Linked DNA regions of Homo sapiens: all the other regions are linked to region 1. The links are contacts of gene promoters, found by promoter capture Hi-C in blood cells and fetal thymus (Javierre and others, 2016). All regions are on one chromosome and are shown on one strand. The core of a region is centred on a gene start or on the middle of the fragment in contact, and the rest is flanking DNA. Distances in the headings are between cores, read along the strand shown.

Evidence for each region. The method cuts DNA at HindIII sites, captures the fragments that hold promoters and counts their contacts. A CHiCAGO score of 5 or more calls a contact.
Region 2: a fragment that was not itself captured here is called in contact with the fragment with the promoter of FOXD2 in region 1 in 3 of 17 cell types (fetal thymus, total CD4 T cells and megakaryocytes); the score reaches 6.5 in fetal thymus.
Region 3: a contact is called between a fragment that was not itself captured here and the fragment with the promoter of FOXD2 in region 1, in 16 of 17 cell types (M2 macrophages, endothelial precursors, megakaryocytes and 13 more). The highest score is 22.1, in M2 macrophages.
Region 4: a fragment that was not itself captured here is called in contact with the fragment with the promoter of FOXD2 in region 1 in 11 of 17 cell types (M2 macrophages, naive CD8 T cells, M1 macrophages and 8 more); the score reaches 10.6 in M2 macrophages.

The regions. Positions count from the first base shown.
Region 1 is chr1:47,436,772-47,439,313 of GRCh38, forward strand. FOXD2 (forkhead box D2) reads left to right here and starts at 1,273. Exons shown (of 1, transcript NM_004474.4): 1 at 1,273-2,542. The coding sequence starts at 1,365. It overlaps LINC01389 (long intergenic non-protein coding RNA 1389), which reads right to left and starts at 546. Exons shown (of 5, transcript NR_126355.1): 1 at 519-546. RefSeq lists silencers at 393-1,292, 1,323-1,502. The HindIII fragment of the contact is 12,776 bases long and covers 1-2,542 here.
Region 2 is chr1:47,754,757-47,757,298 of GRCh38, forward strand. No RefSeq gene overlaps it. Among named protein-coding and RNA genes, the nearest start is that of LINC01738, 68 kb to the left of the region's middle. The HindIII fragment of the contact is 655 bases long and covers 953-1,607 here.
Region 3 is chr1:47,717,036-47,719,577 of GRCh38, forward strand. No RefSeq gene overlaps it. Among named protein-coding and RNA genes, the nearest start is that of LINC01738, 30 kb to the left of the region's middle. The HindIII fragment of the contact is 2,620 bases long and covers 1-2,542 here.
Region 4 is chr1:47,698,907-47,701,448 of GRCh38, forward strand. The region is part of intron 2 of LINC01738 (long intergenic non-protein coding RNA 1738); the gene reads left to right. Among named protein-coding and RNA genes, the nearest start is that of LINC01738, 12 kb to the left of the region's middle. The HindIII fragment of the contact is 1,743 bases long and covers 405-2,147 here.

The sequences.
Region 1 (2,542 bases), core at 23-2,522:
GGAGAAAGAGGTCTAATAGGATGGGCAGGAACCCGGCTAGCGAGAAACAAGGCACAGGGCCAACCTTAGTTGCACAAGACTTTTGAGAGATGAAGGCAACACTTGGTGGAGGTCAGGGTTCACTGAGGGGGTGTCGGGCAGGGGGCGGAGGAGGTCCTGCCGCCTGTCGGTGGGGCCCAGAACCCTGGGAGCCAGGAAGGTGGGGGGTGTCCAGTCCTCAGGGCAACTGGGGCCAGGGAGAGGGGAGGGAGAAATTAAGCGGATTCCCAGACCCATGAACAGACATCCAGACAAATGCCGTTTCCACAGAGACTCACGGAGAGTGAGATAGTCACAGAGACTGAGACAAACGGATGCCGAGATCCAGAGGGTCGGAGAACAGGCAAACTCGGAGCAGTAGACCGGCCCGCGCCCCGGGAACGCGGCCACAGCGGCCGGCGCTCTGCCCGGCCTCTCCGCGCGGAGAGGGGTGGCGGGCCCGACAGCGGAGGGAGGAGAGGGCGCCGCCGCAATCTCACCTCTCCCAGGCCCAAGGCTGCGGGCGCCAAGTTCGCTCCTGGTGATCACTCGAATGCGTCTCCCCTCGGGCTGGAAGCCGTGCGGGCTCGGGTGGGCGCCGGCGGGCCGCGCTGGGGCGGCGTGGGTCCCGGCGTCTCAGCCTCGCGCTCCCACTGCGCTTCGGCCCGGTGGCCCGGGCGCCGCCTTGGGGAGAGGACGGGTGGGGACCGCCGCCACTTCCCTGGCTGCGGCTGGCGCCCGAGTGAGCCTTAACATCCAGGGGCTGAGCGTTCTGAAGGCGGCGGCTTCAGGGAGCACAGGGTGCAGGAGCGGCGGCGAAGACAAGGGCCCGCCTCCGGCCACTCGAGCCCAGCTCCCGCCGCGGCGGCGGTTTGTTCCCGCCGGGTCCCTCAGCGGAGGCGCTACGCCCGCCCCTGTCGCCTCGCCCCACCCCGCCCAGGGAGCTCCGCCCTAGCCCGCAGCTCTTCCGCCTTAGGCAGCCGCTAGGCGGGAGGGACAATCCCCCACCACCAACCACTGCCACCCCGAGGGGACTAGGGGCTGAGGCCCGCCCAGGTAAGGGAAAGCCTCAGCTCCTTCCGTTGCGCCCCAGCGGCGGGTCCCAGCTCGGATTCCCGGGGTAGTGGCGGGGGCCGCCGGCGGGTCGTGCCCTGGAAGGTGAGCGCGGCCGAGCTGGGCCGCCAGGGGGCGCTGCGGAGCCGGGGGACACCCCTCCCTGCCTGCCTCAGTCCCCCGCCCCCTCCCCGCCCGCGCGCAAAACGCACTCGCCCCAGAGGCAGCGCGGCCGAGCCCGAGCCGCTGCCGGAGCGGAGCCGGAGAGTGGCGGCGGCGGCGGCAGCGGCACCATGACCCTGGGCAGCTGCTGCTGCGAGATCATGTCCTCCGAGAGCTCCCCGGCCGCGCTGTCCGAGGCCGACGCAGACATAGACGTGGTGGGCGGCGGCAGCGGCGGGGGGGAGCTCCCAGCTCGCTCCGGGCCCCGCGCCCCCCGGGACGTGCTCCCCCACGGCCACGAGCCTCCCGCGGAGGAAGCCGAGGCAGACTTAGCCGAGGACGAGGAGGAGTCTGGTGGCTGCTCGGACGGCGAGCCCCGCGCTCTGGCGTCCCGGGGGGCGGCGGCCGCAGCGGGGAGCCCGGGGCCAGGCGCCGCGGCGGCCCGCGGCGCAGCGGGGCCCGGGCCGGGACCGCCGTCGGGGGGCGCGGCGACGCGGAGCCCGCTGGTGAAGCCGCCCTACTCGTACATCGCGCTCATCACCATGGCCATCCTGCAGAGCCCCAAGAAGCGGCTGACGTTGAGCGAGATCTGCGAGTTCATCAGCGGCCGCTTCCCCTACTACCGGGAGAAGTTCCCCGCCTGGCAGAACAGCATCCGCCACAACCTCTCTCTCAACGACTGCTTCGTCAAGATCCCCCGCGAGCCGGGCAACCCGGGCAAGGGCAACTACTGGACGCTGGACCCGGAGTCGGCCGACATGTTCGACAACGGCAGCTTCCTGCGGCGTCGCAAGCGCTTCAAGCGGCAGCCCCTGCCGCCGCCGCACCCACACCCGCACCCTCACCCGGAGCTGCTGCTGCGTGGCGGGGCCGCGGCGGCGGGGGATCCCGGCGCTTTCCTGCCCGGCTTCGCTGCCTACGGCGCCTACGGCTACGGCTACGGGCTGGCTCTCCCGGCCTACGGCGCACCCCCGCCGGGGCCGGCCCCGCATCCGCACCCGCACCCGCACGCCTTCGCTTTCGCCGCGGCAGCCGCCGCCGCTCCTTGCCAGCTGTCGGTACCCCCAGGCCGCGCCGCCGCGCCTCCACCCGGACCTCCGACGGCCTCGGTGTTCGCAGGCGCGGGATCGGCCCCAGCTCCTGCGCCTGCCTCAGGCTCGGGCCCGGGCCCGGGCCCCGCAGGCCTGCCCGCCTTCCTGGGCGCGGAGCTGGGCTGCGCCAAAGCCTTCTACGCGGCGTCCCTGAGTCCTCCCGCAGCCGGCACCGCGGCGGGTCTGCCCACCGCACTTCTGCGCCAGGGCCTCAAGAC
Region 2 (2,542 bases), core at 30-2,529, 320 kb after region 1:
CATATTCTAAGGGTGATAAGCCATACGAAACCCATCATCTAAGACTGGATGCATACAAAGGCTGGGGCTTCAGGAGAGGTGGAAGTGTGAGCCCGGGGGACCAGAGCACGCTTCTACGAGGAAGCACAAATTAAGTGAGGCCTTGAATACCAGGAAAGAAGTTTTCAGGTGAAAATAGGGGGAATGAGCAGCTAGCTGTGGAAGGGACAGTGGGGATGGAGATGGAGTTGGGAAATTGCAGATACGTTCAGGGAGCCCGAGTAGCTCTCTATGGCTGGAGCATGGTTTTAGGGGAGGGGAGGAGACACATGTCTGGAGAGATTCGTTGGGCAAACTGTAGAGGGCCTGTGAGGGAGCACTGCTGGGAGGGGAAGGGAGGGGGAGAGGAAGCAAATGCACATTCCATATTAATTTTAACTTCTTGAGGAAGGTCCCCAGTACTATGGTAACCATCACATACTTGATGGATGCTACTCAGTGTCTGCCTCCCCCACCGAGCTGCAGGCTCTGCATTTCTCTAGTTGGGCCTGGCACCCTGCAGGCTCAGGTTTGGGATGTGGAAGGCTTTTGGACCCAAGGTGAACTGGACTCTTTGGGCCAGTTCTCTGTATCTAGGTGAGCCAGTGTGCTGAGGCCAGAAGGGGGGCCTGGGAGTCTGGACTCCTGGGTTGGCCTCCGACTCGCACATGCCAAGAGGCCTTGGGTGGGTCCATCTCTTGGTGTTCCCCTTATCTGTTCAGTGAGGGGCCTGAGCCCACAGAAGAATCATGTCCCCTCCAGCTCCCACTTTCCTGCCTTGTTCCGTCAGGTCACCTGTTTAGAGCCTGAGGTCACGACCTGAGTAGCACTGCCCCCTGGTGGCAGCTGCTGGATGGCAGGAGAGACAGTAGCACCTTCCAAGTCCAATCCCCCTACCAGTACCACCTTCCAAGTCCAAGCAGAGGTTGGCCCAAGCTTCAGTGTCTGTCTTTGGGTATGGCTCCAGAGCAGAGGGGTGGGCAACTCAGCAGAGTCAGTCCCTTCCCAGGGGACTCCCAGTAGTGCTTCCAGTGCCCTCCCATGACCACCCACCATCACTGAGGAAAGTCCCTGGGACCACATGACTTCATGGGTCATTCTGTCCCTGGGATCGGGCAAGGGGCATAGGGGGAGGTGGGGCTCAGGAAATACCGTCCTCCCTCATCTTCATCATCATCACCACCACAAAGCTCTTGGAGTCTACGAGCACAGGCAAACCTGCCTTATCCTAAATCCTCACGGTATCTCTGTGGGGTGAGGCTATCCTCTCCCATTTTATTGATGGGAAAACTGAGATTCAATGGGAGGAGGAGATGGCCCCAGGGCATCAGGCTTTTCCTCGACCTCTATGCCACTCCTCTGTTCTTAAGCTGCCTGGGGCTCCTGCTGCCCACCGGGTGGTGTCCTCATGCCTTGACCTGTGAGTCACAGCCTCTAAAGCCTGATTCCACCAGCTCCAGAGAGTATCCCCTCTGCTGCCACTTGGAGCCTGGGCACTCTGAGGCCAGCCCTCCACCTGTGCTGCTGGTCTCTGCTGCCTGTGGGGGTGGCAGTAACAGCTAACACGTGCTCTGGGCCTTGGTTTCCAAAGCTTTCTTACATCCACCATCTCATTAAAACCTCACTGCAGCCTGTGCCAGAATTAGTTTTATTAAACTCACCATAGAGATGAGAAAAACGAGGCTGAGAGAAGGGAGGGACTACCTGGCGCAAAAGCAGGTCCAGGACTCTGGCTCCCCCTGACCATAAGCCCAAGACCCCGACTGAGCCGGGACAACCTCTGGGACGGGGTGAAGGGTGAGAGGCTGAATGCGGGGAGACTGGCTGGCCCTGGAAGCAATCTGTGTTTTCAGGTCTCCCCGGGAGCAGGAAGACTGCTGGACCCAGGAGCTGTCTCCAGTGGCCCGTCTGTCTTGGCCCCTCAAGCCAGGCCCCAGCCTGTGCTGTGGATCTGAACCAGGCCTCCTCCCTCTTGCTGAGACCCTGCTGTGTTCTGACTCCAGCCAGTCCTGCCTCTCTCTGTTTCCACCCATGCTCGTCTGTGTTTTTCTGCCTCCCCATCCAGGCTTCTTCCGATGACTCCCTTTCATTCTCCCCCTTTCTCTCTGCCTCTCTCTGCTTCTCTGTTGCTGTCTCCTACTGTGTCTTCACTCTCTCTCCATCCATCTTTCTATGTGTTTTTGTCTCTTTTGCTTATCTTCTCCTTCACTCTTCGTCCCCACCCTTGGTCACCATCCTGCTCAGCCCCCTTGTCCCCCTCTTGGGTCTCAGGGCAGCAGAGGTGAGGGAACACTGGGAAGGGATGTCTGGGGACCTGCAAGTCCCCAACCCTTCCTTGCCTGGGAACTTGTGTCTTCAGGTTGGGAATTTTATCACTGTTTTTTTGTGGCTGATCAGGGAGGAAGAAATGAAAACTAAGAAAAAACAAAACAACAACAACAAAACAAACCAGGAACTGTTTTGCAAGCCCAGAACCAACTGATATGAAACAAGATTTTACGAATATTTTCTGAAAATAATTTCA
Region 3 (2,542 bases), core at 16-2,515, 280 kb after region 1:
TCTTGGAGATATTTGAAGTATGAGAATAACTTGCTGCATCATTGCTGGCTTTGAAAATGGAGAGGACCATGTGAGAAGGAAAATGAATGGCCTTAAGGAGCTGATGGCTAGCAAGGAACCAGGGACTTCAGTCTACAACTGCAAAGAACTGGATTTTGCCAACATCCTGATTGAGCTTGGAAGGGCATTTTTCCCAGAGCCTTCCCATAAGACCCCAGATGGCTAACACCTTGATTTTAGCCTGTGAGACCCAGGGCAGAAGACTCACATAAGCCCACCCGGATTTCTGGGCTACACAATTATACCATAGTAAATAGGTACTGCTATAAGTTGCTAAATTTATGGTAATTTGTTTCATAGCAATAGAAAACTAATATGCCTAGCCTGTGTTCACTCTCTCAGAATTATCTTGATTTTTTTTTTTTCCTAATCAACCTAAGAGATGAATCATCACAGAATAGGGAAAGAATACAGTATTGAACACAAATACACCTGGGTTCCAATCCTGGCTCAGTCACCTACTAGCCATGTGACTTCAGCCAAGTTACATAACCCTTCTAGGAAGAGCTTTATTCATCAATAAAATATGAGGATGATAACTTTCCTGGTCAGTTTGCTTGGAAAATTAAATATAATGCACATTGCATGTCTGACACATAGTAGGGGCTTAAATGTTTCTTTTACTTGTTTGGGATAGCAATAAGCTAATATTAAGTAGTCAGTTTAAAGATGTTAGAGTAAGTGCAGTTATTTTTTTCACTACCATCATTAATAGTCGGACAATTTTAATAGCACATCACTGACTTGACCTAGAGGGAGAGCTACTAGTGGAATTGAGGCCATGCTGATGAAGAGGGGTACTTGGTAGAGTGCCCAACATCACAGATCTCTAAGCCTATGTCAGAGTCTGGGTCTTGGATTAGTCACTGGACACACTATGAGACCAGGAGGAAGGAAATAAGCGGTGAAAATGACCCAAAGTTAAATTGAGAAATACATGCTGTACTCTGGAAATGAAATCACCTGATCTCCCTTTCTGGACCCAGGGAGCAGGTGACCCCAGCCACGGCTTCTTCTTTCAGGAACTGCAAAGCAGGCAGGACTGAGCTCATACTGCCACATCCTGCTCAATCTAGGAGGGTATCAGGAACCAAGCCATTTCCCTTTCTTCTCCCCAAGTCTAAACTTTACAAGTTATCAGAGAGAGCATAGAACAAGCAATCTTGAGTGTGTGGAGAAGGAAGACCTATTGAACTTTTCAGAGCTCTTCGGGGTTCAGCATTTTGTCCCTCTCCTTTTCCTCCTATCCTCATAGCCCCACTCCTCATCTACATGGACCCTTGGGGCCGTTGGATTTGGTGGTATCCTGTAAAGGTCTCCAGGCTTGTCAGAAAGCCTAGGTTCTGGTCCGTGGTGTGCAGAGCTTGTTTGCACCCACTGGCCAGAGCTGACCGTAAGTGCCTCTATTCAACTGCACTATCAAGTGATCTCACTTCAGTTTGAAATCTGCCATGGTGAGAACACACCATAGAAACTGGCAAAGACTGCAAATCAGGCTTTCTCTTCTCTAGAGAGCTGGTGTTAAATTTACCAGTAGACTGATGCTTCTAGCCTTGGCGGCCTGGGAAGAGGCAGATTCCTGCCCTTTTCTGGGCCTCAGTTCCCTCTTTAGTCAGTGCCTTAGCTACCCTCTAAGGGCCTTTAAAAAAAGCTCATTAGATACCAAAGAAAAGAGAGAAAGTGTGGATAACAAAATTATTGCTTTCATGGTAATACTTTCACAATAAAAATAGGGTTCACAATAGTCACATTTAGAAAGAGCTCTCTCTTTGCTAAATACCATGCTATGTATGTCATCTAAGGCCCTCCCTTGCCTTACTTAACCCCCCCTCACACCTGATTCAATCAGCTAGTGAGGTACGCAGGGCTGAAGATTTTTCCCCACTTGGCTCTGAAATTTGAGTGTCTGCATATGATTCTGGGCTCCACCACTTTCTCAGTTAGTTTGACTAAGTTATTTAATTTCTTTGTCTCTTGTTTCCTAACATGTAAAATGGAACAATAATAAAAGTTTCTACTTCTTCAGGTTGTTATGAGTATTAAGTGAGAAAACCCATGTAAAATGCTTGGATTAGTGTCAGTCACACAGTAAGGGCTAAAGGAATGTTGAGAAATGTCTTAACATTGTCTATCCCTGCATCTGTGGAGCCCACACAGGCCTGTTCCATGGTAGATGCCTAATAAATGTTTGTATTGGAAAAGAAGGGAGGCCAATAGACAAAAATGACAGAGAGAAATATTTGTATTAATAACTAAATGAATCTTTCATGTTTACTCACCTCGGTCTTTCCCATTTACTTTCACCAACTTATCTCATGACCGCCCTCATAGATGTTCTACAAAGAGTTGGAAATTCATTTACGTAGTCACTCAACAAATATTAATTGAGCCCCTCTGGTGCCAGGTCCTGGCTAGATGCTGAGGCTACCATTGGGAATGAGCTCTGGGTTTAGCTGGCGTTAGAATCGTGGAGTCCTTGGTC
Region 4 (2,542 bases), core at 26-2,525, 260 kb after region 1:
TTGTTATTATTTGGTGTTTACTCTCCTTCCTGGCTAGCCAGAAAGAGCTGGTGTTTTTTGAAGACCTAAGCCCGGGAGCAAATTTTTCCTGGTCAAAGAGGCCAAGAGTGGGCCCAGGATCTCTGCCAGGACCTGCCAGGGCCCAGAAGATTTGGGGAGGGGAGCTGCAGCATTAGAGGGCTGAGACCCCTTTATCCTTGATTAGGTCCAAAGCTGTTGGGTGGAACTGTGGCACCTGCAGAGTTAACCGCGTCCATGGTGTATCATTGCGCTAAGACAGGCTTAGAGAGAGCTCAAGGGGCCTACATTTAAATACACACCTTTCTGTTTCCACAGCTCATGTATTTTAGGGAGGAAAATTTAATCCATATACTTTTAGTTCATTTGCATTAAAGTCATCACAAAGCTTTGTCTGAGCCATTTTGAGCTTGTGTGGCCTGTTGGAGAACCTTCACTGTCTTTCGAAGGCCTTTTCTTCCTCTCTAGGCAAACAGGAAATCATACTCTGCCCAGGAGCAACCAACCTGAAACCTTCAGCGCTGCCTGCCTCACCTGCCTTCTCACACCTGGAAATGACAGGCCGAGATCAAGTTCCTCTGGAGCCCAGGAAACTCTCATGCCTGACAATTAAATGCCTCCATGATTTGCCCCAAGCTATCTTGATAGCAGTTGTACCCTAACCACCAGGCAGGGTGATGTTCATGGAAACCTCTGTTCCTGCCATTCCCTCTCCCCTGGCTACATTTCCTCCTGACATTTTGCCCATTCTCTGAGGCCCAGCTGCGGCTCAACCTCAGCCTTCCCTTGATCATCCTTATGCAAGCAGTTGCATAAGCAGTTGCCGGCTCAGGATTCAGTACTAAGTGTCATTGGTAAACGTTTATTGGATGGATGAATGGAATGGTGGATGACAGGGGCTGGGATAATTTATCCTATATTTTCTTCTTGCTTCTCCCTCTTCTGAAATGTGTCTGGCCCAGGTTTTGGTACACACGGAGGTTTGAGGAATGCCTAAAGAATGAATGCACGTGCAGTGAATGGATGGCTGTAGAAATCCATTTATAGAGCACATGCTATGGGCTCTGCATGGGGCCAGATGCTGGTATCACAGCTGTGAAGAAGACATGCTTCCTGCCCTCATCTTTCACATTGTAGCTGAGAAGTCAGGCAGACACTGGGAGTTGCACAATCTATGATGTATTTAGTTACTCTTGTGATAAGTTTGAGGAGGGAGGAAAATGAATATGTGTATGAGTGAAGAAAGGAGTAAACAAATAGAATGAGGGAGGAAATGAATATGTACATGAATAAAAGAATACTGGGGAGAATAATTAATGGAATGATGGATGAAGATGAATTCATTGTGAAGGAAAAGACCCCAAGCCGTGTGACACAGTATTTGTGGACACAAGGCCTAGAGGCCACTAGGCCACTGTGGCCTGAAGTCAGCCCCTCTTTTGTTTCCCAGGGTGCAGGAGCAGCAGGTGGGTGGGGAGAGGTAAGGCCCTCTGCATCCTGAGGTTGGCAGCACTGCTACCATCTTAGCATCTCCCAAACTTTAGTCTCAGAAAGGGTGGGTGTTTGTGACTTTAACCTGGAGAATCTCAGGGCCTGCAGGGCTGGATTTTTCTTTTTTTTTGAGACAGTCTCACTCTGTTGCCCAGGCTGGAGTGCAGTGGTGTGATCTCGGCTCACTGCAACCTCCGCCTCCTGGGTTCAAGCAATTCTCCTGCCTTAGCCTCCTGAGTGGCTGGGACTACAGACGCACACCACCATGCCTGGCTGCTTTTTTTTTTTTTTTTTTTTTTTGAGATGGAGTCTCGCTCTGTCACCAGGCTGGAGTGCAGTGGTGCAATTTCGGCTCACTGCAACCTCGGCTCACTGCAACCTCCATCTCCTGGGTTCAAGCGATTCTATTGCCTCAGCCTCTTAAATAGCTGGGATTACAGGCATGCGCCACCACGCCCTGCTAATTTTTGTATTTTTAGTAGAGATGGGGTTTCACCATGTTGGCCAGGCTGATCTTGAACTCCTGACCTCAGGTGATCCACCCATCTCGGCCTCCCAAAGTGCTGGGATTACAGGAGTGAGCCACCCCACCTGGCCACAGGGTCTGAGTTTTGCTCAGCACATGGCATAATCCTCAAAGCTTTCACAATCATATCCACACCACACGTATCCTCCACTGGGAGAAATCAGCTGGAGAGGGAAGGGCCTGCCCAAGGCCCCAACACCAGAGTCCTGACCTCCAGGAGCCTGAGACAGACAAGGCCCATTTTGACTTAGCTCCTTTCGTCCCCCTCTGAGTTCTCCTAATCCTCTCCCTTTGTGCCCCCTCCAGCCCCACAGGCCCTACCCTCTCCTGGCACATGCTGGGCACGCTCCTGCCTTGGAGCCTTGGTGCTCCTAATTCCCTTTGCCTGGGATGCTCCCTCTAGATGTCTGCAGGGCTCACTCTTGCTTCCTTCCAGTCTTCTCTCAGAAGTTACCCTATTAGCGAGGCCTTCTGTGGCTACTGTATCCATAATTTTGTCACTGACCC